Linked DNA regions of Homo sapiens: region 1 is linked to region 2. The links are contacts of gene promoters, found by promoter capture Hi-C in human tissues and cell types (Jung and others, 2019). All regions are on one chromosome and are shown on one strand. The core of a region is centred on a gene start or on the middle of the fragment in contact, and the rest is flanking DNA. Distances in the headings are between cores, read along the strand shown.

Region 1 (4,828 bases), core at 1,958-4,457, 550 kb after region 2:
CAGCTCAGAGAGAATGTGTTCTGCAAGGAAGGTTTGCTGGTAGAAGCCTGACCCCAAGGACACGTGGCTGGGCAAGGTTGTAGGAGAGCTGGCTGGGGTTGACATTTCATAAACATGAAGTTGCCTTGGGAGAAACCTTTCTTCATTATCAATGCTAAGGGAACCCTTGCTCAAACAAGCCAGGGTTATGCAAAACTCCAAAATTTCCTTCATTTGAGCTGGAGAGTGTGTGTGCATATGTGTGTGTGCATGCACGTATATGTGTGTGTGTACACATATGTATGTGTGTGTTGTGTGTGCATGCATGTGTAATGTGTGCATGCCTGTATGTATATGTGTGTGCATATGTATTTGTGTGCATGCATGTGACTGTGTGCACATAAGCATGTGTGTGACATGTGTGTGTATGTGTGTGTCTGTGTGTGTACTGCAGATTCACTGTCCTAGTGAGTTTTGTTCTGTGTTTTCAGCTCCTGCACCAGATTAGGACCTTCTTTGAGAGCAAGGACCAGTCAACTACATTTTATTCTGCTTTGATCTCACCTATTTAGTGCCAGTGCAATACCATATGCAGAACAGGTGCTCAATAAATGCTCCCTAACTTGAGAACTTCTCTGAGACACCTGAGCAGGAAAGGGGAGGGGGCAGCCAGGCCTCTGCTGAGAATTGAAGGCAAGGCTTTCCCTCCCCCTCCTTTCCACTTCTCTTCCTCCCTCTCTCCCAATCCCACATCTGTCTTAATTTGGGTGCTACTGAGGGGGCCTGAAAAGGGAGTGTCCCTAATGATCATGGTGTAGAGAATTCCACCCATGCCATTTACCTTCACCTTCTAAGGAGCTTCCCTGCTAGCAGGGCCAGGGAGGTCATTTGTACTCACCTTCCCTGGTGGTTTTTCCCCTGGGGAAAGAGAGAGTGGAAAGGAAAGGACCTTAGGCAAGTAGCCAGGTGGAGGGAAAACTGCTCTTGCCTGAGAGGTGGGAACCCTGCCTCTGAGTCCTGGTAGCAGGCAACTGTCCCATTTGGCCTGGGACTTTCCTGGTTTTCCCACTGAGGGTCCCACATTCCAGAAAAGCCTTCAGTCCCAGGCAGACTGGGATTGTTGCTCACCCTACCCCCTGGCGTGTAAGGATCAATCCCGTAGGTCCGTGGGGCTCAGGTACCTGTCACAAGGAACGGCCTCAACCTCCTCCCACCTTTGTTAAGGAATGGGTTGGAAGGGAAGAGTGACTGCAAAAGAATTGGGAAAAGCCCAGCGGGCCATGTGCTCGAGGACCTTACCCTTCGGCATCTGCCCCTTGCGTGGGGTGGTTGAGGGGAAGCATGGATGTAGGAGGTCGGAATTCGTCCACGTTTGTGGGTAGAATTGGAGCCCAGTGGCTGGAGCCTGGGGTGTCCTCCTTATCAACGCTCCCAAATTGGAGCCTCTGTCAGGGGAGGGGCCCCTAGGATAGGGCCAAATGGGCCTCCCATTTGGAGCTTGGCTCTTTGACTTAGACCAACTCAAGTTCGAATCCTGGCTCTGCCACTTGCTGGCTGGGAGGTTTTGGCCAAGTCATCCCCCTACCTGTGGAAGACAGGTGACACCACTCCAACCCAACTCTGCCCAGGACACAGCAGGCCTCTGACACACGCCACATTCTTCTCTTCCTTTCTGCTCTTCTCTTCCCCTAGACACCTTATTTTTTCTGGCTTAAGGACAAAATTAGGAGGGAGGAAAACGGAAAATCCAGATGCCAAGTCCTTCCAGGGAAACCAAAGTGGGGGATGATTGAGGCCTGGGAGGTGGAGGGAGGGTTGTTGTGGAGTCATCATAATTTAAGAAATCTGCCTCCCTTCCACGCCCCAAGATGAGCATTACTATTTCATGGATGATTCAAGTCTAACTTCCCCCTAGGAAGGGCTGTGACCCCTGACCCCTGCAACCTGTATTTACCACGTTCAAAAGCCCCTACTAGCCCCAGAGAGCTGACCTGAGCTGGGACCAAGGCACCAGGACTGGCAGGGCTATAAACAAGCCTGCCTCCTTGGGCTCAGGAATCCTGAGTGAAAAAACAGAAGGGGGCTCAGAGGTGGGGCCCAGTCCTGGCCTGTGAGCCAGCGGCTAAAGGGAGGGGAGAGAGGACTCACGGGGGTGGGGGACCTGGAGGATGAGTTAGGGGAGAAATGGGCACATAAGGAGCTATTTCCTCCCCTTGACCCTCGGTTTTCTTGGCTGTAAAATGGAGCAAAAGCTACTTTGCTCGTTAGGGTTTTGTAAGGCTGAAGTGAAATAGTGAGTGTAAGGGCTTCAGAGTGCTAGAGGGGAAAGTAAAAAGCACACACGCATGCTAGAGCAGGGGGCATAGAATAGGGAGGGGGCCAAAGCATGGAGGATTAGACAGTTGACACGTGGTTGTTAGATGATCAGTAAATCTCTGTTGAGAAATAAATACCCAGAGCTTGGCTGAAACAGAACAACGTGGGTCCATCCCTGCCCTCAGAGGCCCCCTTGCTTGGTGGGGTAGACAGGCAAACAGATATCCCTCCCTTCAGTGTAAGGGTTGCCATGAGGAGTAGGGGGCATAGGGGCTGTGGGAGAGTCCCGCTTTGGGGTCCATGAGGTGGAAATGAATTCGTCTTTATTTTTTCAAACTCACATTTCCTGTGCCTCTTTGCAGAAACTTTCTGATCTCTCCTCCCACCCCAAACTTGCCTTTGGTGTGTCCACGTCTCTTGGATTAGACTTTAATCCTCCTCCAGCTCCTTGATGGGCATGCAGAGGCTGAGAGGATCGAACTGGCCTTTCCCAGCACTTGCTCTGGGACTATCTGGAAGCCTGCACGCTAACTCAGCCCACTGCCCCGCCCTGTAACTGCAGACAAGAAATGACCTCCATGAGCCTCAGTGTTCTCATCTGTAAAATAGGGCTAACAACACCCACCTCACAGTGTCGGACAAAGCCACGTGTGGTGCCTGGCACACAGTAGGTGCTCAGAGTATGGGCCTGGAGCCCATGCTGGCTTTCTGGCTGCAGCACACAAGAGCCTGGGCTCCCTCGGCCAACTGGGCCTGGCCTTTGAAGCTTAGTGTGGCTCCTTATTATGGCAATTAATTACCCAGGGACAATGGAGCACAGCCCTGCCCTCTGCCCGCGCCTTCCAGTGACAGGGGGTGGGCGGAGGGCGCCGGGAGGGGGAAGTTAAGCGGCTGCCTGTTTGTTTATGGGCACAGGAAGCTTTATTGGTTTTACACTCCAGCCTGTTCTGAAATCAAAGACGATTTCCAGGGAGCAGGTGGGAGTCAGCCACTTGGAGCTCAGAGAGTGGCTTTGTTTATTTTGGGGGCCCTGACTGAGCACAACCTGGTCTCTGCCTGCACCAGTGTCCTAGAGACCTGCTCTGGGGTTGGGCAACAGGAGTTGGTGCTTCGCTGGGGGTAGGGTGGGTGCTGGGGGGTTGAGGGGGGCGAGGAGGCAGCTCCTCCTGCAGGCCTGGGAGGAGAGGGAGCTTTGGTTTCCCAAAGCCTGGGGTGAGTGCTGCTGAAGTTATGTGACCCGGCCTTGGCCAAGCTACTCCTGCTCTCTGAGCTTTGGTGATCTTGCCTTCAAAACGGGCCTAAAGATGACCCCTGCCCCGGCAGTCTTGGAGAATGCGCGGGGCAATGCTCATTGGTGTGGTTCCATGAGGCGACCTTTCTGCAGTCCTGGAATTTGCAGTGCTCCTTTGTTCCTTCTTTAGTTCATTCATTCATTCATTCATTCATTCACTCATTCTCTCATCCTGTAAGAGAGCCTGTAGATTCACACTTCTACTTGGAATTAGAGAAAAGAAAGCTGGTTTCTCAAATTCAAAAACATTGTATTAGTTCTAGTTTTTTGTTTGTTTGTTTGTTTTGTTTTGTTTTTGTTTTGAGACAGAGTCTCACTCTGTCACCCAGGCTGAAGTGCAGTGGCACAATCTAAGCTCGCTGCAGCCTCCGCCTCCTGAGTTCAACCAGTTCTCCTGCCTCAGCCTCCCGAGTAGCTGGGGTTACAGGGACACGCCATCATGCTCAGTTAAATTTTTTTGTACTTTTAGTAGAGATGGGGTTTCACCATGTTGGCCAGGATGGTCTAAATGTCTGACCTCAGGTGATCCTCCTGCCTTGGACTCCCAAAGTCCTGGGATTACAGGCATGAGCCACCACACCCAGCCTGTAAGTTCTTTATATTGAAGGAATCACATATTATTGTGAAGAAAAAAAAAAAACCTCAAACACTAAAAGAATATAGAAAGTAAAAAAGCTTGTCAGCCTCTGCTTCCTACTCTCCAGAGTTAAATACAATGAATAACTTGGGAGTCTGATCTTCTAGATGTTTCTCCACAGAGAAACGGCACATCTATACATATGTTTATTTTGACAAAGTGGGATTGTGCAACAGACACTGCTCTGGACTTAATCAGTTAATAATGTGTCCAGGACATCATTTTCCGGAGGCTGGTTCCTTCTCGACACCTCGCCAGTGATGGGTTTTACCCATTGTTTTATCACCTTCAACCTGATGGTAGCTGAGCCCTGGGCTCATCACTTCCACCTGTTAACTGAGGAGCCATTGCTGTCCCCATTGTACAGATGATAAGACTGAGGGCCAGAGAAGCTGGATGATTTCTTCAGGTCTCCTGCTAGAAAGCAGATGAACTGGAATTTGTGGGGTTTGTTTTGTTTTGTTCTGTTTTGTTTTTGAGACAGAGTCTTGCTCTGTTACCCAGGCTGGAGTGCAGTGGCATGATCTCAGCTCATTGCAACCTCTGCCTCCCATGTTCAAACGATTCTTGTGCCTCAGCCTCTCGAGTAGCTGGGATTACAGCCA
Region 2 (4,644 bases), core at 1,024-3,523:
AGAGAATTGAGGTGATTCAGAAGTCTTGGGGCTGAAGGAGATCTCCAACACACCAGCCCCAATCCTTGGTCCTAGGAAGCAACCCTCCCTTGGCTGTTAGGCCTGCTTTCCTCCTCACTAGCATATCCTCAGATGCCATTCTCTAGCTCCTTCTGCTGGCTCTCTTTTCTAGCTGGTGTGAACCATGGCTGGGAAGAAACATCACTAAGGGGCCCTGGAATCCCACCTGCTCCCTGGCCCTCATCTCCAAGGGCTGGGCTGCAGGGAGCGCAGCCAGGAAGCCCCACCAATTCAGGGTTCACCTGAGGAACTGATGCTGTCCACCTGCCTAGCTGCACGCCGATTTGCAGCTGGGGCCAGAGAGTAGGAATGCCCACACAGCGATGCTTGGCATTTCCCTGCACAACTCAGACCAGCACAAGGAACCGCATGAACCTGATGCTGTTCCCCAGCCAGGGAGCCCCTTCCACAGAGGATTTAGAACCTGGGATGGACTTTTGGGTTTGTTGACTTTTTCTTGGGTCAGAGTGGGGAGGGAGGGCCAGGGAGGAGGCAGTAAGGGACTGTGCCCTGCAGCCTGAGAAGAAGGTGAGGGGGAGAGGTGACCTCAAGCTGACCCTCAGCAGCCTGGAGAAGGGGAGACCTGGGTGGATGCGAGTGAGAGGGAGCAAAGAACAGCAGCCAAAGGGAGAAGAAAGGACCTAAGACTCCAGTGTTCATCAAGTGTTCAAGCCATATGCAGTCCAATCAACCTGGAACCAATTAGTCTGATTCACAAAAAAAAAAAAAAAAAAAAAAAAAAAAAATCCCACTTAGGGACAAACTGTAATCAAACACCTATTTATAAGGGTTTATTATGATCATTATTATTATTTTACTGAGAGGATCATTCTAAAGCCTGTCAGGTGAACGTATGCTTTCAGATCTTCATAAATGCAAATCGCTCCTTCTGGGGTGGGTGAGCAAGCTGAGCCGCAGAGCTGCCTTGGGAGGCGATGGGGTGAGGTTCCAGAGGGCAGGAGGAGGGAGCAGTTCACTTTCATGGACATCTCTGCACAAAGCTCACCCAGAGGCAGCCCAGCAACCACCCATTGCCCACCCCACTCCCTACACTCCTCTCAGAGGGCTGCTGGAGATGGAACTGGCTATAGACCCATTGCCCATGTAGGTAAACGATGCAACAGCCTGACTCAGCAACCTGCCAGAGCTAGGGAAGCTGGAGATTCTCCATAGAAGGCCTGGGTAAAGGGACCCACCTGAGTTCTGAGCAGGTTTTGCCCCTGGTCGTGCTGGTTTTTCTGGGCTTTGCCAATCTTCTGGGTCCCTACCAATGGTGAAATTCTATCTCCTGAACTTCCTCATCTAACCACATCCCCAGTCCACTCCAAGGGCTAGAGTACCCCTCCCCTTCATCCTCGCAGGAGGCCTCAAAGTCCACCGCCAGGGCTGAGGCTCAATGGTGTGTGTGTGTGTGTGTGTGTGTGTGTGTGTGTGCTCGCGTGTGTGTTGGTGGGAGAGTAATGGTAACATACAAGTCCCAAACCTGTTCTTCTCGGACCTGGGAAGAAAAGCTGTCAGGTCTGGCAAAAAGGTGGAAACTTGGTCTCTGCCAGGAGGAAACAATCAGTTCCTCACCCTTCCTGGCTGGATCCTAGCACATGGGAAAAAGACAGAACACACCCCATTTCCGTGGGTCCCTGGGGGAAGGAGCAGCCGTAATTGGGGAAGTTTCAGAACATGGAAACCCCTTAATCTTGCCCAATGAGGGCATTCATCGTTGGCAAGGTCAGAACTCCAGAGCCACACCCTGCCTGCCCTGCTCCCAGGATGGCATCTTTCCCTCTCGGGAGGGAGGCTGCCTCCTTTCATCAGGCTGAGTAGCGGGGAGGGCGATGGTAATCCCGGGGATAGGAGGGGCTAGGTAAAGGCGGATCCGATGGAGCATAGCTTCCAGGGCGGGGTGTTGGGTCACCTGGGTAAGGGTTAAGAAGCTGGAGGCAGCAAGCCAGTTTTGAGTGAGGGGGGACCTGAGTGAGGGGAGAGGGGAGGTTAGGAGGGGGTGAGCTCTCCTTCTCCCTGCAATAAATCGGCTTAGCGGACGAGAGCCGAACAGCCCAGAAAGGATTAAAGAAAAGTCTGTATAATACGCGGAGAGCGCGGCGAGGGGAGGGCAAGGAGGGCGGGGGGGCGGGGAGAGGGGGAGGGACGGAGGGAGGGCGAGAGGAGGGGGGTGCTCGCGCCGCCGGGAGAGGCGAGCGCGAGGCAGAGAGCGCGATTCGGCTCCAAACTCCGGCGCTGCAGCCGATCGGACTCTGGGCCGCGGTGGGCACCGCGCGCAGCTAGGGAGCCGAGAACCGCGGCGAGCCCCGAGGACGCCCAGAGCGCGAGGGTCGCTGCGCCTCGCAGAGCCGGAGCCGAGTCGAGCCGGGCGCCCGGGCTGCCTGGCCGCGGCGGCATGGGGGCGCCCCCGCGGCTCTCCGCGCTGCCCGCCACCGCCTCGGCCAGTGGCCGGAGGCAGGAGCGCGTCTGAGCCCATGGCGAGGGGACCCGCCGCCACCGCCTCCACCCCCGCCGCCCCGCCACCGCCGCCAGCTCCCGGGCACCATGCGAACCGCCCCGAGCCTCCGCCGCTGCGTCTGCCTGCTGCTCGCCGCGATCCTGGACCTGGCGCGCGGTGAGTGCGCGGGCGCCTGGCGGGAGCCGAGCGGTGAACGTGCGCGGGGACGGGGTGCCGGGGGAGGGCGCTGGCCGGGGTCGCTCCGAGAGGCTCGGGCTACGAGCACCGGTCCTGCCCGGGGTCTGTGGAGCTGGTTGGCTCGATGAGGGAGGGAGGACGCCTCTTGGAGAGCGCTCATGGATTTGTGCCAGGGTGTGTGTGTGTGTGTAAATTGTGTGTCTTTGTTGTGTGTCTGGGTGAGGGTGTCCGGGAAGGAGCTGTGTGGGCAGAAGGTGCGGGAGTGTATTTAGAGATGCAAGTGTGTGTGTGCGTGTGTGTGTGATGGTGTGGGGTCTGCGTGTGAGTGAGCGAGGGTCTGGATGGGTGTTAGAGTGTCTGTGTCAGTTACATGGAGAAGGTGTGTGTGTGAGAGTGTGAGCGAATGTTGGGGGGAGGGTGTGAACATGTGCCACCTTCCCTGTGAGGGTGTGAAGTGTGTGAGCTTGTGTCACTGTGGGTGTGAGGTGTTAGGGGGTGGGTATGTGAGGTTTGGCGTTTCACGTGTGTCCCGAGTGTGCAGGTCTCTAGGGGTGTACGACAGCGGATTACTATTTCTGTGTGCACAGGAGATGGGACTGTGACACTGGACAAGAGTCTGCTTATGTGGGATGGGTGGGGGTGCAGGTGCCTGGGAGTCGTGGGCTTCATGGGGCTGGGAGTGTGTGTATGCGTGCCATGGAGCGTGTGGTTATCGTGTGCAGGGAGGTATGGACGCTTCCGGGGCTGGGGAGTTGTGAGCAGCTCAGTGTGTGTGTGTGTGTGTGTGTGTGTGTGTCCCGCCGTGTGGACTTGCTCCCGGGTTAGGCTAAGACAGCTAGAAGGAGGTTGAAGCCGAGCGGGTTCTCCGGAGCCAGTGAGAGGTGGCTCCGCAGCCCCAGGGTCCGCGGCCGGCCTCCCACCCAGTGCCGCCGCGTAGTGGGTCTTAAATGGAGCTGAACCCTTTCGCGCAGTGAGCAGAGAGCCAACGTGAGGCTAAAAGCCAGGAGGGAGGGAGGCGGGACCAGCGAAGAGCCGCAGGCACCGAGACTACAGGCTCCGCGTCCGGGATCCTCCTCGGAGCCTGGTGCCAACCTCAGCCTGGCTGGAGTCAGAGCCTGGCTCCGCCTCGGAGGGGAGCGGGACGCGAGGTGCCAAAAAGTCGTCTTTATGATCAATAAGGTCTCGACCCCGAGCCCCACTGGATGATAGAGGTGGGCATCACCTCTGTCCTATGCCATAGCCTTGTCCCAGCAGGAGGTGCCTACCTAGGCTCTGAGAGTGCCTGCCAGGAAGGGGTGCCCCCTTAAAAATAACCCCAACTCCTTCTACCCCGAAGTCCTTGGGGAGTGCTGGGTCTGCTGATGGGAGAAGCTGCAGAATTTGAGCCCGGAAGGTGGTCCTGACAGCGAGGGGGGAGGGGTTGGTGTAACCCAGAAGGAATGCAAACCCTGTACTTTGTTCCCCTACCCTTGGAACAAGAGACTTTCCTAAGTGGATCAAAATGTCCCCCCTCAACTTTGGGAGGAGGGCTCTAGAGGGAAAGGTTACATGGGGGAGGTCCTCGTTCCAGCGCCGCCGAGAGGGCACTGGGGTTTGTTGAAAGGCACTGGAGCCCTCACCTGGACATTGCAGGGGGCGGGGGTTGGAGGCTGGGGACCTAAGGTAAGCACCCCTTTCCCTGGGAATGCGCAGAACAGAGAGACGCGGCAGGGTGAAGGAGAGGACTGATGAGAAGGGCTTGTTGGGAAACCCTGGCTCCGTCAGGACCCCACCCTGCGAGCTCTCCCTGGAACCCGGGAGCAGGGTTCTTCTGGCTGCCCGGCTGCAGAGAGCTGACCCGGCATCCTGACGCCTCAAATCCCTTTGCCCGCCTCTGCGGGCTGCGGGAGGCGGGGGTTGGCGTGCCTGAGGGTGAGCGCATCTGGGCCGGTGCAGCCAGCGCGGCCTCG

What was found. The method cuts DNA at HindIII sites, captures the fragments that hold promoters and counts their contacts. A contact is called where the count stands out against the background at its distance.
Region 1: a contact is called between a fragment that was not itself captured here and the fragment with the promoter of IGSF21 in region 2, in 2 of the 25 tissues and cell types used here (liver and thymus).

Annotation. Positions count from the first base shown.
Region 1 is chr1:18,658,701-18,663,528 of GRCh38, forward strand. All of the region lies in intron 4 of PAX7 (paired box 7), which reads left to right. Among named protein-coding and RNA genes, the nearest start is that of PAX7, 30 kb to the left of the region's middle. The HindIII fragment of the contact is 3,689 bases long and covers 1,364-4,828 here.
Region 2 is chr1:18,105,525-18,110,168 of GRCh38, forward strand. It overlaps IGSF21 (immunoglobin superfamily member 21), which reads left to right and starts at 2,274. Exons shown (of 10, transcript NM_032880.5): 1 at 2,274-2,674. The coding sequence starts at 2,605. The HindIII fragment of the contact is 17,740 bases long and covers 1-4,644 here.